Regions from separate parts of the Homo sapiens genome. Here regions 2, 3 and 4 are each linked to region 1. Evidence: promoter capture Hi-C in 16 types of primary human blood cells and fetal thymus (Javierre and others, 2016). All regions are on one chromosome and are shown on one strand. Each heading gives the region's core, a stretch centred on a gene start or on the middle of the fragment in contact. The rest is flanking DNA. Distances are from core to core; before and after follow the strand shown. Region 1 holds the start of FOXO1 (forkhead box O1). Region 2 has its middle 140 kb from the start of LINC00332. Region 3 overlaps LOC124903162. Region 4 overlaps LOC124903162.

What was found. The method cuts DNA at HindIII sites, captures the fragments that hold promoters and counts their contacts. A CHiCAGO score of 5 or more calls a contact.
Region 2: a fragment that was not itself captured here is called in contact with the fragment with the promoter of FOXO1 in region 1 in 9 of 17 cell types (activated CD4 T cells, total CD4 T cells, M2 macrophages and 6 more); the score reaches 9.7 in activated CD4 T cells.
Region 3: a contact is called between a fragment that was not itself captured here and the fragment with the promoter of FOXO1 in region 1, in 2 of 17 cell types (M0 macrophages and activated CD4 T cells). The highest score is 6.8, in M0 macrophages.
Region 4: a fragment that was not itself captured here is called in contact with the fragment with the promoter of FOXO1 in region 1 in 17 of 17 cell types (naive B cells, activated CD4 T cells, monocytes and 14 more); the score reaches 12.8 in naive B cells.

The regions. Positions count from the first base shown.
Region 1 is chr13:40,665,278-40,667,977 of GRCh38, reverse strand. It overlaps FOXO1 (forkhead box O1), which reads left to right and starts at 1,337. Exons shown (of 3, transcript NM_002015.4): 1 at 1,337-2,395. The coding sequence starts at 1,766. RefSeq lists an enhancer at 449-498 and silencers at 1,149-1,678, 1,909-2,048, 2,139-2,188. The HindIII fragment of the contact is 11,472 bases long and covers 1-2,700 here.
Region 2 is chr13:40,043,807-40,046,506 of GRCh38, reverse strand. No RefSeq gene overlaps it. Among named protein-coding and RNA genes, the nearest start is that of LINC00332, 140 kb to the left of the region's middle. The HindIII fragment of the contact is 4,479 bases long and covers 1-2,700 here.
Region 3 is chr13:40,141,648-40,144,347 of GRCh38, reverse strand. All of the region lies in intron 1 of LOC124903162, which reads left to right. Among named protein-coding and RNA genes, the nearest start is that of LINC00332, 39 kb to the left of the region's middle. The HindIII fragment of the contact is 2,500 bases long and covers 111-2,610 here.
Region 4 is chr13:40,080,766-40,083,465 of GRCh38, reverse strand. It overlaps LOC124903162, which reads left to right. Exons shown (of 5, transcript XM_047430821.1): 5 at 1,150-2,700. The coding sequence ends at 1,215. Among named protein-coding and RNA genes, the nearest start is that of LINC00332, 100 kb to the left of the region's middle. The HindIII fragment of the contact is 3,641 bases long and covers 1-2,700 here.

The DNA.
Region 1 (2,700 bases), core at 88-2,587:
ATATTCTTCCTAAAAAAGCAAAAGCATAACAAAACAAAACTGGAAAACTGTTTCTTCTGCTTGAGACACAAGGGCCATTATCTTCCCACCTTTGGCCCCACTGATCCTTGACAGGATGTCCTGGACCTGCAGCCCAGATGAGGAAAGGTGGGGTGTGGGTGGGGGGTTGACTGACACACACAGCAAGTAGCCTCAAGGAATTTGGGGGTGGGGCAGGCTGCGCCCCAAGGCTTTGGTCCTATCTCCCGCCCCCCTTGCGTTTTTACTTAACACCCGATCACTTCCGTTGCAAATAAAAAAGAAGTAACAAACAGCTAAATTTAATTAGGGATAAGTAATAAAATGACCTGGTTCTCTCTAACTGCGCTCCTGAGCCCTTCGCTGCCGGCCCTGGACTTAGTGGACGGAGCGGGAGATTCCCGCCCAGGGGAAGAGGTTCCCACGGAGGGCATGCGGTCGCGGGTGCCTTTGGATTCGTGTGTTCAGGGAGGCCAGATAATCTCCTCCCCGCGCCGGAGCCCCTGTTCCTCATTTCTAGCATTTTAAAAAAGGTCAAGAATACAGTGAATCCGGCTGGGGGCTGCCGGCTGGGTGACGCGCCTCTGGCTAGACCGAATGGCACAGGCTGAGCCCGGGGGTGCGGACCGGTGGGCACGGAGAAGGGTCCCTCGGCGCGGACTCGACTGCAGGAGCCGCGGCGCCGGGGGTGGGGGGCGTGTGCCGCTCGCGAGGGGGCCGGAGGACTTGACAGATCGCAGCGAAAGAAAACATTAAACCAAAACAAAACCCACCGATTCCCCACGTCGTTCAGCAAAGACATCGTGGGTGGAGCCAGGAGGGAGCGATTGAGTAGAATTCCTCGCGGCCGCCTCCGCCCGCCCACCCCGCGCCCCCGGCCCTCGGCCCCCTGCCCTGCCAGCCCGCCGGGCTCGGCCCGCAGCGGAGGTCAGGGAGCAGCGAGCGCCTCCTCCCACCCGGGCTTCCCGAGTACTCGGCTCTGCTGCTCCGTAGTAAACAAAGTGTCGCCGGCGCCTCCACGCTGGTTTGCTTCCTAGCAATCAAAACACTGAGAAGGCGAGAGAATCACAGAAACACTCGAGAATTACCAGAAAATAATAGAGATCCAAAAAAAAAAAAAGGAGGTGAGTGTGTGAAAGAGAAAAACACCCCACTACCCCCCACCAGCCCACCGCCGCCTCCCCGTGGAAAACCGGGCCCCACCCAGCCCGGCGCCCACTGGCTGCCCGGGCGGCGGTGCCGCATGCCCATTGGCCGCGCGGGCTGTCGGTCAGGGGCGGGCCGGCGCGCGCGCCGCCGCGGGCGGGGGGCGGCGGCAGATCCCGTAAGTCGGGCGGCCTGGTAGTCGCAGCAGCCGCTGCCGCAGCCGCCACATTCAACAGGCAGCAGCGCAGCGGGCGCGCCGCTGGGGAGAGCAAGCGGCCCGCGGCGTCCGTCCGTCCTTCCGTCCGCGGCCCTGTCAGCTGGAGCGCGGCGCAGGCTCTGCCCCGGCCCGGCGGCTCTGGCCGGCCGTCCAGTCCGTGCGGCGGACCCCGAGGAGCCTCGATGTGGATGGCCCCGCGAAGTTAAGTTCTGGGCTCGCGCTTCCACTCCGCCGCGCCTTCCTCCCAGTTTCCGTCCGCTCGCCGCACCGGCTTCGTTCCCCCAAATCTCGGACCGTCCCTTCGCGCCCCCTCCCCGTCCGCCCCCAGTGCTGCGTTCTCCCCCTCTTGGCTCTCCTGCGGCTGGGGGAGGGGCGGGGGTCACCATGGCCGAGGCGCCTCAGGTGGTGGAGATCGACCCGGACTTCGAGCCGCTGCCCCGGCCGCGCTCGTGCACCTGGCCGCTGCCCAGGCCGGAGTTTAGCCAGTCCAACTCGGCCACCTCCAGCCCGGCGCCGTCGGGCAGCGCGGCTGCCAACCCCGACGCCGCGGCGGGCCTGCCCTCGGCCTCGGCTGCCGCTGTCAGCGCCGACTTCATGAGCAACCTGAGCTTGCTGGAGGAGAGCGAGGACTTCCCGCAGGCGCCCGGCTCCGTGGCGGCGGCGGTGGCGGCGGCGGCCGCCGCGGCCGCCACCGGGGGGCTGTGCGGGGACTTCCAGGGCCCGGAGGCGGGCTGCCTGCACCCAGCGCCACCGCAGCCCCCGCCGCCCGGGCCGCTGTCGCAGCACCCGCCGGTGCCCCCCGCCGCCGCTGGGCCGCTCGCGGGGCAGCCGCGCAAGAGCAGCTCGTCCCGCCGCAACGCGTGGGGCAACCTGTCCTACGCCGACCTCATCACCAAGGCCATCGAGAGCTCGGCGGAGAAGCGGCTCACGCTGTCGCAGATCTACGAGTGGATGGTCAAGAGCGTGCCCTACTTCAAGGATAAGGGTGACAGCAACAGCTCGGCGGGCTGGAAGGTGAGTGGACTCGGCGCGCGGCCGGACCTTGGGGGCGCGGTGGGTCAGGCGAGGGCGCAGCTGTGCAGGTTTGCTCGGCCTGAAGGTGCGGAGCAGGAGGGCAGCGCGTTCCCAGGAGGGCGGGCGAGAAGCGGTGGTCGCGGTGGCCTCGCCCGGGTCCGGTCGGGGACGGCAGTAGGTGTGCGTGCGCGCCAGTCAGGAGTTCGCGTGGGACGCGGTAAGGGGCTCGTTGGGGAACTAAGTAAAGAAAGTGCGCCAAGAAGTGGACGTCAGAGCGAGGCCGAAAAGTTTGCCAGTGAAAGGAG
Region 2 (2,700 bases), core at 158-2,657, 620 kb after region 1:
TTATCAAAAGAAAGTTGGTATGGTTATTCTTATATCAAACACAGTAGATTTTGAGGGAAAAAGCATTACTAGACATGAAGAAAAACACTTTATCATGATAAAATGGGCAACTCACCAAGAATATATAACAATTCTAGATTTATGTTTCTAAAAACATAGCCTCAAAATATATAAGGAAAAAAATCACTGAATTAAAAGGGAAAGTAGATAAAGCCACAATCAGAGAACCAAATGTCAACCAGCGGACAAAAAGTTAATAAAGTATAGAAGATTTGCACATACTAAGTAACAAATTGACCCAATATCTGAAGAAATATTTACCAAAATGTAGACAACATACTGAGCTATAGAGCTTTCTTGTAAAAATTCAAATGATTGAAGTTATTCAGAGGTTTCATGTTCTCTGACTACACTAAAATGTGGGTAGAAATATACAAAATAAAGCAAATGAAAAAAGTGGAACTAGAAAATGAAAATTAGAACATATTTTAAACTGAACCATAATGAGAATTATATATATCAAAACTTGTATGCAGTTGAAGTCATTCTTAGACTTTCAAATATATGTAGTTGAAAAAGAAATATCAAAATTAGTGATCTGAGTATCTATCTCAGAGAGTTAGATATAATAAAACCAAATAAAATGGAAGGAAGGAAATAATAAAGATAAGAACAAAAATCAATGAACTAGAAAGCAAATGTGCAACAGATTCAACAAAGCCAATATATTAAATTTTTTAAGACGAAGAAAATATATAAATTCCTAGCACAACTGATTAAGAAGAAGTAAGACATGGTGCAAATTATTCTTATCAAGGGCTGAATGAAGGAACTTTGCCACAGAAATTACAAACATTGAAAAGATAGTAAGGTGATATATAAACATATTTATGCTAATTATTAATTAATGTGAAAATTTATATGAAACAGACAAATTTTTAGAAACACACAATTTCCCAATACTGATAGAAATGGAAATTTCTAAAATCTGAAGGTTCCAATATTTATTTTTTTGAAATGAAACTTAAAAAAAATAGATAGTATTGTGTGTATTTGAGGTTCACAACAATGCTATGGGATATTAATACATATAAATAGTAAACTGTTACTAAAGTGAAGCAAATTAACAAAGCTATCATCTCACATGGTTACTTTGTGTGTGTGTGACAGGAGCAGCAAAAATCTACTGATTTAACCAAAATGTCTAATACAATACAATTTTGTTAACTTTAGTTCTCATGTTGTACATTGTTTCTGTAGACTTGTTCATCCTAAATATTTGGATATAAAGAAATGGAATCTTAATACAGATAATGATGATGATGACATTTGGAGAACCTCTTAGACCCTGGCTTCAATTTTTTTAGATCATGGGATTTTTTTGTTAGCCTAACGTCTTGTTCTCTCCCCATCCCTTATTTATTTGTCCTGACTGCAGAAAGTATTACCTGACGGAGGAGTTGGGAGAAAGAACTGGGCATGCTCAGTTCGGTCATCTCTTTCCTGTTTTCAGGTCTGACTTCCAGCAAAGAGGAGCTTTCTGGGCTCTCTGCACGTAATAATTTGCTTGCTCTTCCTGAGAAAACCTGCAATTGTTCAGTGATATCTGTAAGTGGGAGGACATGTTGTCTTTTTGGACAAAATATTAGCAAGGGTAAAGATCTGAGGTATTTCCTTTGATTGCCTTCATCAATAATAAAAGCAATATTTTGAGATTCATCTGGCTTATTCCAATGTCTATCTCTCAATTCTATTCCAGCTTGGGAAAGTAAGAAAGTAGCATTATTTATTCATTTTTTAAACTTTCAATAAGTAGGTAGCTCCACTTTCACATCTGAAAAATGGGGTTAATAATATTATTAAGTGAGTTAATATGTATAAGGTGTTTAGAACTTTGCCTGGCAAATAATAAGCACTTAATAAATATTAGTTACTGTTATTTGTGTTAAATTACTGCATGCCAGAACTGGGCTAAATCCTTTACACTGCATCTTCTTGTATAACATTGAGAAGAAATCTCTAAGGTGCACACTGATTACTCTTAGGTTACAGAGGAGGAAGCTGCAACTTGGGGAAGTTAAGTCACCTTGTTGAAGGTCACACATTTTGTAAGGTCTAACTTCAAAGTGCATAGCTGTCTTTTGCAAACACAAGCCATTGGTGATAAGTGGGAGAAACAAGAGAGAGAAAACCATTTGTGACAAATTTGTCACTACTACTGGAGAAGAAATTTAGAGTGCAGTTCCTACTGATGATTAGCCAACTAACAGCATCGAGTCCTGAGAAAAGGACAGTTAGTTTCTCATGATCTTTAGAAGGACCCAGTTTAACAAGAGTTAAATCCAAGTTGATGTTACATGTTCATGGATCATCAAGCATGCCCAAGAGTATTCTTGAACAATTTAAATATCACACCATTACCACTGAAAAGATTTGGGTCTTTGCCAAATGTTTGGAGCTCCAACTCCAGTTCTTTTGGTGCTTTATCTCCTTCATGAGAAAGTCTGAAGAACCCTATCCCTCAGCATTCCAGTGCGGCTTAAGTTACACCACTCCACTCTTAAAAATGGTTTCAAAATCACTTAGCCTTTTCTCTCCTCTCCAGTAATCTGGGCTAGCCAATACCTTTCTTTTCAGCATTAACAGCCTTGCAGTCAGGCTTACTGCACGTGCTTCTCCTAATCATTCCTGAAGAGGAGA
Region 3 (2,700 bases), core at 111-2,610, 520 kb after region 1:
CCTTAATTTCAATCCTGCTTCCTTAGGTGCAGGGAGTGCTACCTGTAATAAGGAGGCCCAGGGAAGGAGATTGCTCTTGGCCTTCCATGTAACAAACCCAGACATAAGCTTTAGTCTGTGCTGCTTCTGTTGTTTTTATTATGGCAGTGACAAGCTCAAGGGCAATTCTTAGGGAGGCTGTTGAGTCCTGCCTGGGAGATGGTAAGGAGCACGGGCTCCAGAGGCAGATTGCTAAGGCCCAGCTTTTCACTTCCACACGCTTGCTGCGCGATGTGGGGATAATACTGGTACCTAGCTCATCATGCTGTAAGGAGTATATGCAAGTATATAAGGAGTATTTAAATCAGTCTTACAAGTAATGATGATAGTAGTAGTAGTGATGATGATGATGATGATGATGCGATGATGGCAGCTTGCTCCATGTCAAGTACTGCTCAAGTGCCTTATGCAGAGTAACACACTTACCCCTCACATCAACCCTCTGAGGTAGGTGCTGTGATTTTCCCCTCTCAGGGGTTGAGAGAACTAAGGCACAAAGCGACGAGGCAGCTTGCCTGAGTGCACACATCAGGGAAGTGGTGGAGATGAGGTGCAGACCCAGGCGGCCCTGCTTTAGTGTGTGGGACATCCTGCTCTACCATGTGCCAGGCAGAGCTACTTTGTCTGCCCCGCTCCCTCACCCTCACTTTTATGTCTGGGTGGGGTCTTTATGGCTTCACTCTCATGCCTCTCATTCACTTTCTCCCCTTCTCTCCTCTCTCCTCCTCTTCCGTTCTCCCTCCTTTTTCTCACTCTCTCTTCTTTCCAGTCCCCAGTTGTCCTCTGTCTCTAGAACCTGCGGTTGCTGCAAGGTTGCCTCCAGGTAATGGAGCTGTTGCTGCTAGGTGTGTCTTGCCCCCGCTGCATGGCCGCTACCCCCATAGCCACGCCTGCTCCTGAGCTCATCTGCTGCAGAGCATTAGTTGCTACCTTGCCACCCATTAAGCCCATGTATCATAATTGTACATTTTTTTGGTTGAAAGCCAAATGATGAAGCTAATAAGGTTCATGCTGGGAACAGATGTTCTTACTTCTGCCCAGATGCTGTACATGACAAGGACTTGCTGGCGCTTGGTGTCAGCGAGACTCTTGTACTCTCATTTGAAGTGTTTCTGGCTGAAGGGTTCTTAGGAAGGGCTGAAAAGTCATGCTGTCCTTATATGCAGGAGCTGGGCACAGGTCTTGAGGGGTAGGAGGTAGTCATCCTCGGTACTTTATAATCCATCTGCTTCATGAGGACATCATCCCATGCCTATTTGCAAACTGCCTTTGTTTGCATTTTATAATGACGCATTCAGATTTTTGCTTTTCTGGTTGTTTCAATCTCAAGCTAATTGGCAGTGAACAATTCTTCCATTTTCTGCTTTATTTCCTCATCTCTCCCTACTTGGAAATCAAGAAAAGTTTTTTTTCTCCTCTCATTAAGAATCTTAAATGATTATGCTAATATCATTCATTCATTCAATGTTTATTGAGTGCTTTCTATGTATAAGGCACTGGGATGTAAAACCGGATTTCTTCTTTTACGGCATTTACATTCTAGTCAGGAGAGATAATAAACAAATAAATAAACAACCTAATTTCAAATTAGAGGAGTGCTGTGAAGGAATGAAACAAGAGGATGAGAGAGAGAGAGAGAGAGAAACTAGGGCATAAAGTTTACTTTATATAATGTAGTCAAGGAAAGTATTTCTGAGGAGGTGACAGTTAAGCCGAGGTGAGGAAAGAACATTCCAGCAGGGACTGGCAAGTGCAAAGGTCCTGAGGTAGGGAAGAGCTGGGGAGCTGAAGGCACAGGCAGAAGGCCAGTGTTTTGGGTGCACAAGAGGAAGCAAGGGGAGGCAAGATGAAGTGAGGCAGGGACCACATCTTGTAACACCCTCAGGCTTCGTCTTCCACCCCTTGCATAATTTCTAAAGTCAGTCCGCAAAGGATGACTAACTAGAAATCATTCCCTGGGATTTGTTTTTGAGTTCTGGTCTCCTTCCTGAACCACTCGACAACTAGTTTGTAGCAGTCTGCCCTTCACCAGCTCTCTTCACATGCACTTTGTCCTAAGGGCTATGATGCAGAAGGAGAATAATATAAACTTACCTATATAAGCCATAGATGGATTTCTTTAAATCGAGCTTCCAGACTGTGGTTAAATTGGCCCGCAGCCACAGCTGGCATTTCAAAGTATCATGCCAGGGTTCCAGCACCGTCCTTGTTAATAAATTATCTTGATACAGAGATAAAATCTTGCTGCTTGACTTACATTGCAACGCATACACACAGACAGGGGAAATGTGTGAGTTTTAATAGCATTGTTGAAGCCAGGGAGGTGTGTGATGATGACGGCATACTCTGACTCCTGACAGCTCCTCCTGCTCCCGCGAATTTGCTCCTCATTCATCCCACTCTGAACAGGCAGAGCCTGGGGTTTCATCATGGAGTAGCTTGAAGTCGTCTGTGGCTACATGGTCAGCACCATACTGGAGACCCCCAGGCAAACCTGTGTGGTCCCAGTTCAGAAGCAGAGGCTGTGGTCTTTTCACAGAGCCCTGGGCCTTTTCAAGAACTGGCCAAGCTTCCCTGGGCACTGGCCACTGACCCAGCTTGGCTATAAAACCTGCGTTAAACCCGTCTTCAAAGATAAGGGACAAGGTTAGCTCAGGCGCT
Region 4 (2,700 bases), core at 94-2,593, 580 kb after region 1:
TCTAAGACACTGGGGCTTGAGGGCTTTTGCTTATTCTCTTTCATCCACTGTTGTGCTGCCTCACTGGTGCCCCTCTCTATCCCATCTCTCCCCTACCTTCCCACCTACGCCCTCCCAGACCTCCAGGGAGAAAGAGAAGAGAGACATTTGAAATACTCTTCACTTCATCCTAAAGAGGTGAGCCACTTGCCAGTGGGTTCTAAGGAAACTTGAGGTTTGTGCCAGGGTAGGGTCACTGTCATCATCAGAGTGCAGGGAGTAGCAGCAAGTTGGGATTCAGCCAGCTCTAAACTCCTTGCTCTCTTTCGGACACAGGGCCTGAGAAGGGGAACTCAGTGTGATATGTCATGGTGCACACACAGCACTTGTCCCATCCCCACTTCCATGTTCTCTCTAGGCTCACTAACCCTGCACTCCATATTTCTGGGCCTCAGTTTCCCATACAGGCACTTCAGGGCCTCGAAAGGTCTGCGGGCAAGGGTGCCTTGGGAGGATGCGGTCCATTTTGTTTTGTGTGACTATTACAGAACCACACGAGGCGCTCTTTCGGCTAGGCCATGTGCCAGAAAGAGAAGAGAGAGTCTAGTCAGGATATTTAACTTATCATGGTCACAGCAGGAATTTTTCCTGCTGCAAACTTCCTAACATTCTGACCCTTCTGGTCTGAACATTTCCAAGGCTGTTCCTATGCCAACCGAAAAACATTCCACAATCTATGTTTCTTGTGCAGTATAGCAGTGGGCTTTTCAGTACCAGGAAGACGTATGAAAGGTTTGATTTATTGCCCATTCTTTTGTGTGGGAGAGTCTAGTGATTTCAGATATAACAACAGAACTCTGTGAGATGCTGAATTGCCCAGGGAGTGCTCAACTGCCCCGTGTCTTCACTTGGGAGGGTGTCAATCAATCATTCCTGGATACCTGACCAACATGGACGATATCATGCAGTTAATCTCAAAACAAAATATCCAGGTGTTTTCAGTTGTGTAGTCAACATACCCAAATGCTCCTCTGAAATACACCATTGTATTAGTAAGTCAGCTGCTTGGTTTCATGTCACCATAGCCTGACTATTCTGGACAAAATTCTGACCTTTGTTTTGTCTTTTATTTTATTTTTTTATAAATCACTCCTGTGTTTATGTTTGCAGGGAGAGAAAATCTTTTTCTGTCTGGTGTTTTTCAAAATTTTGATGATGGACTCACATCAAGGATGAAGAGCTTTGATGTCATTTGAACACCACCACCATCACCACCACCAGCATCAACAAACAAACAAGCAAACAAGCGTGAACTCAGGAGCCCTGTGGCCCAGCCTCCAGTCCATTTCCTCACTGTGATCTGGCTAAGTCACCTCCCCTCCACCTCAGTTCAGTCACCTACACAACAGGAATGGTGGCTCCTGGCGTGAAAAGTTCTTAGGAGCATTCAGCATGATGCTGTGTGGAGCACTTGGAAACTGCGTGTGCATCACCTCATATTTCTGGCCACAGGTCATTCAGACATCTGCCCTTTGCCCTGGAGGAGAACCACTAGGGACTTGTGCCCATAAGCACCAATTCTGGCTTTTACCCTACCCATCCTTTGCCATCCCAAACTATGCCATCAACAAATTCTAGAAATCAAGTTAGAAATGCTGTTCCCACGAGGGTCTCTGTGGTCTCTCAGAACAACAATCAGCTGGCCCTGCTGGGCAGATGTTGCCCAATCCTAACCCACACTTAGCTATCAACTTAATCATTCTCAACTAAAAACACCTACCTGAACACTTTTAGGGGTTAAGAATAGTATAATCTCACTTAGCCATTTGCATTTTTTCTTCTTTTTACAAAAAGAAATTTATCTTTTTTTTTTTTTGAGACGGAGTCTTGCTCTGTTGCCCAGGTTGGAGTGCAGTGGCGCAATCTTGGCTCACTGCAAGCTCCGCCTCCTGGGTTAGCGCCATTCTCCTGCCTCAGCCTCCCGAGTAGCTGGGACTACAGGTGCCTGCCACCACGCCTGGCTAATTTTTTTGTATTTTTAGTAGAGACGGGGTTTCACCGTGTTAGTCAGGATCGTCTTGATCTCCTGACATCGTGATTCGCCCTCCTCAGCCTCCCAAAGTGCTGGGATTACAGGCGTGAGCCACTGCGCTCTGCCAAGAATAGTATAATCTCACTTAGCCATTTGTATTTTTTCTTCTTTTTACAAAAAGAAATTTATCTCATTATTATGTTTAATCAGTTTCTTGAGGTATAACTTAAGTGTGCTAAAATTTGCTCTTTTTAGTGTACAGGTCTAGGATTTTTGAGAAACACATATTCATATGTGACCACCCCCATGATCAACATATGGAACAGTCATTTGCCACCCAAAATTACCTTGTGCCCTTTTGTTGTCAGACTCTTCTTTCTCCAGACCCTGGCAACCACTGATGGATTTTCTGTCCCTATAGTTTTGCCTTTTCCAGAATGTTCTGCAAATGTAATCATTTAGTATGTAGCCTTTTAAGTCTGATTTCTTTCACTCTGCATAATGCATTTGAGATTCACCCACGTTGTTACCTGTTACAATGGTTTGTTCCTTTTTATTGCGGAGTAATATTCCCTTGCATGGATGTACCACAGTTTGGGTAACCATTCAACAGTCAAATGAGATTGAATTTGTTTCCATTTTTTGGTGATTATAAATACAGCTATAAACATTTGTGAAAGTGTTTTGTA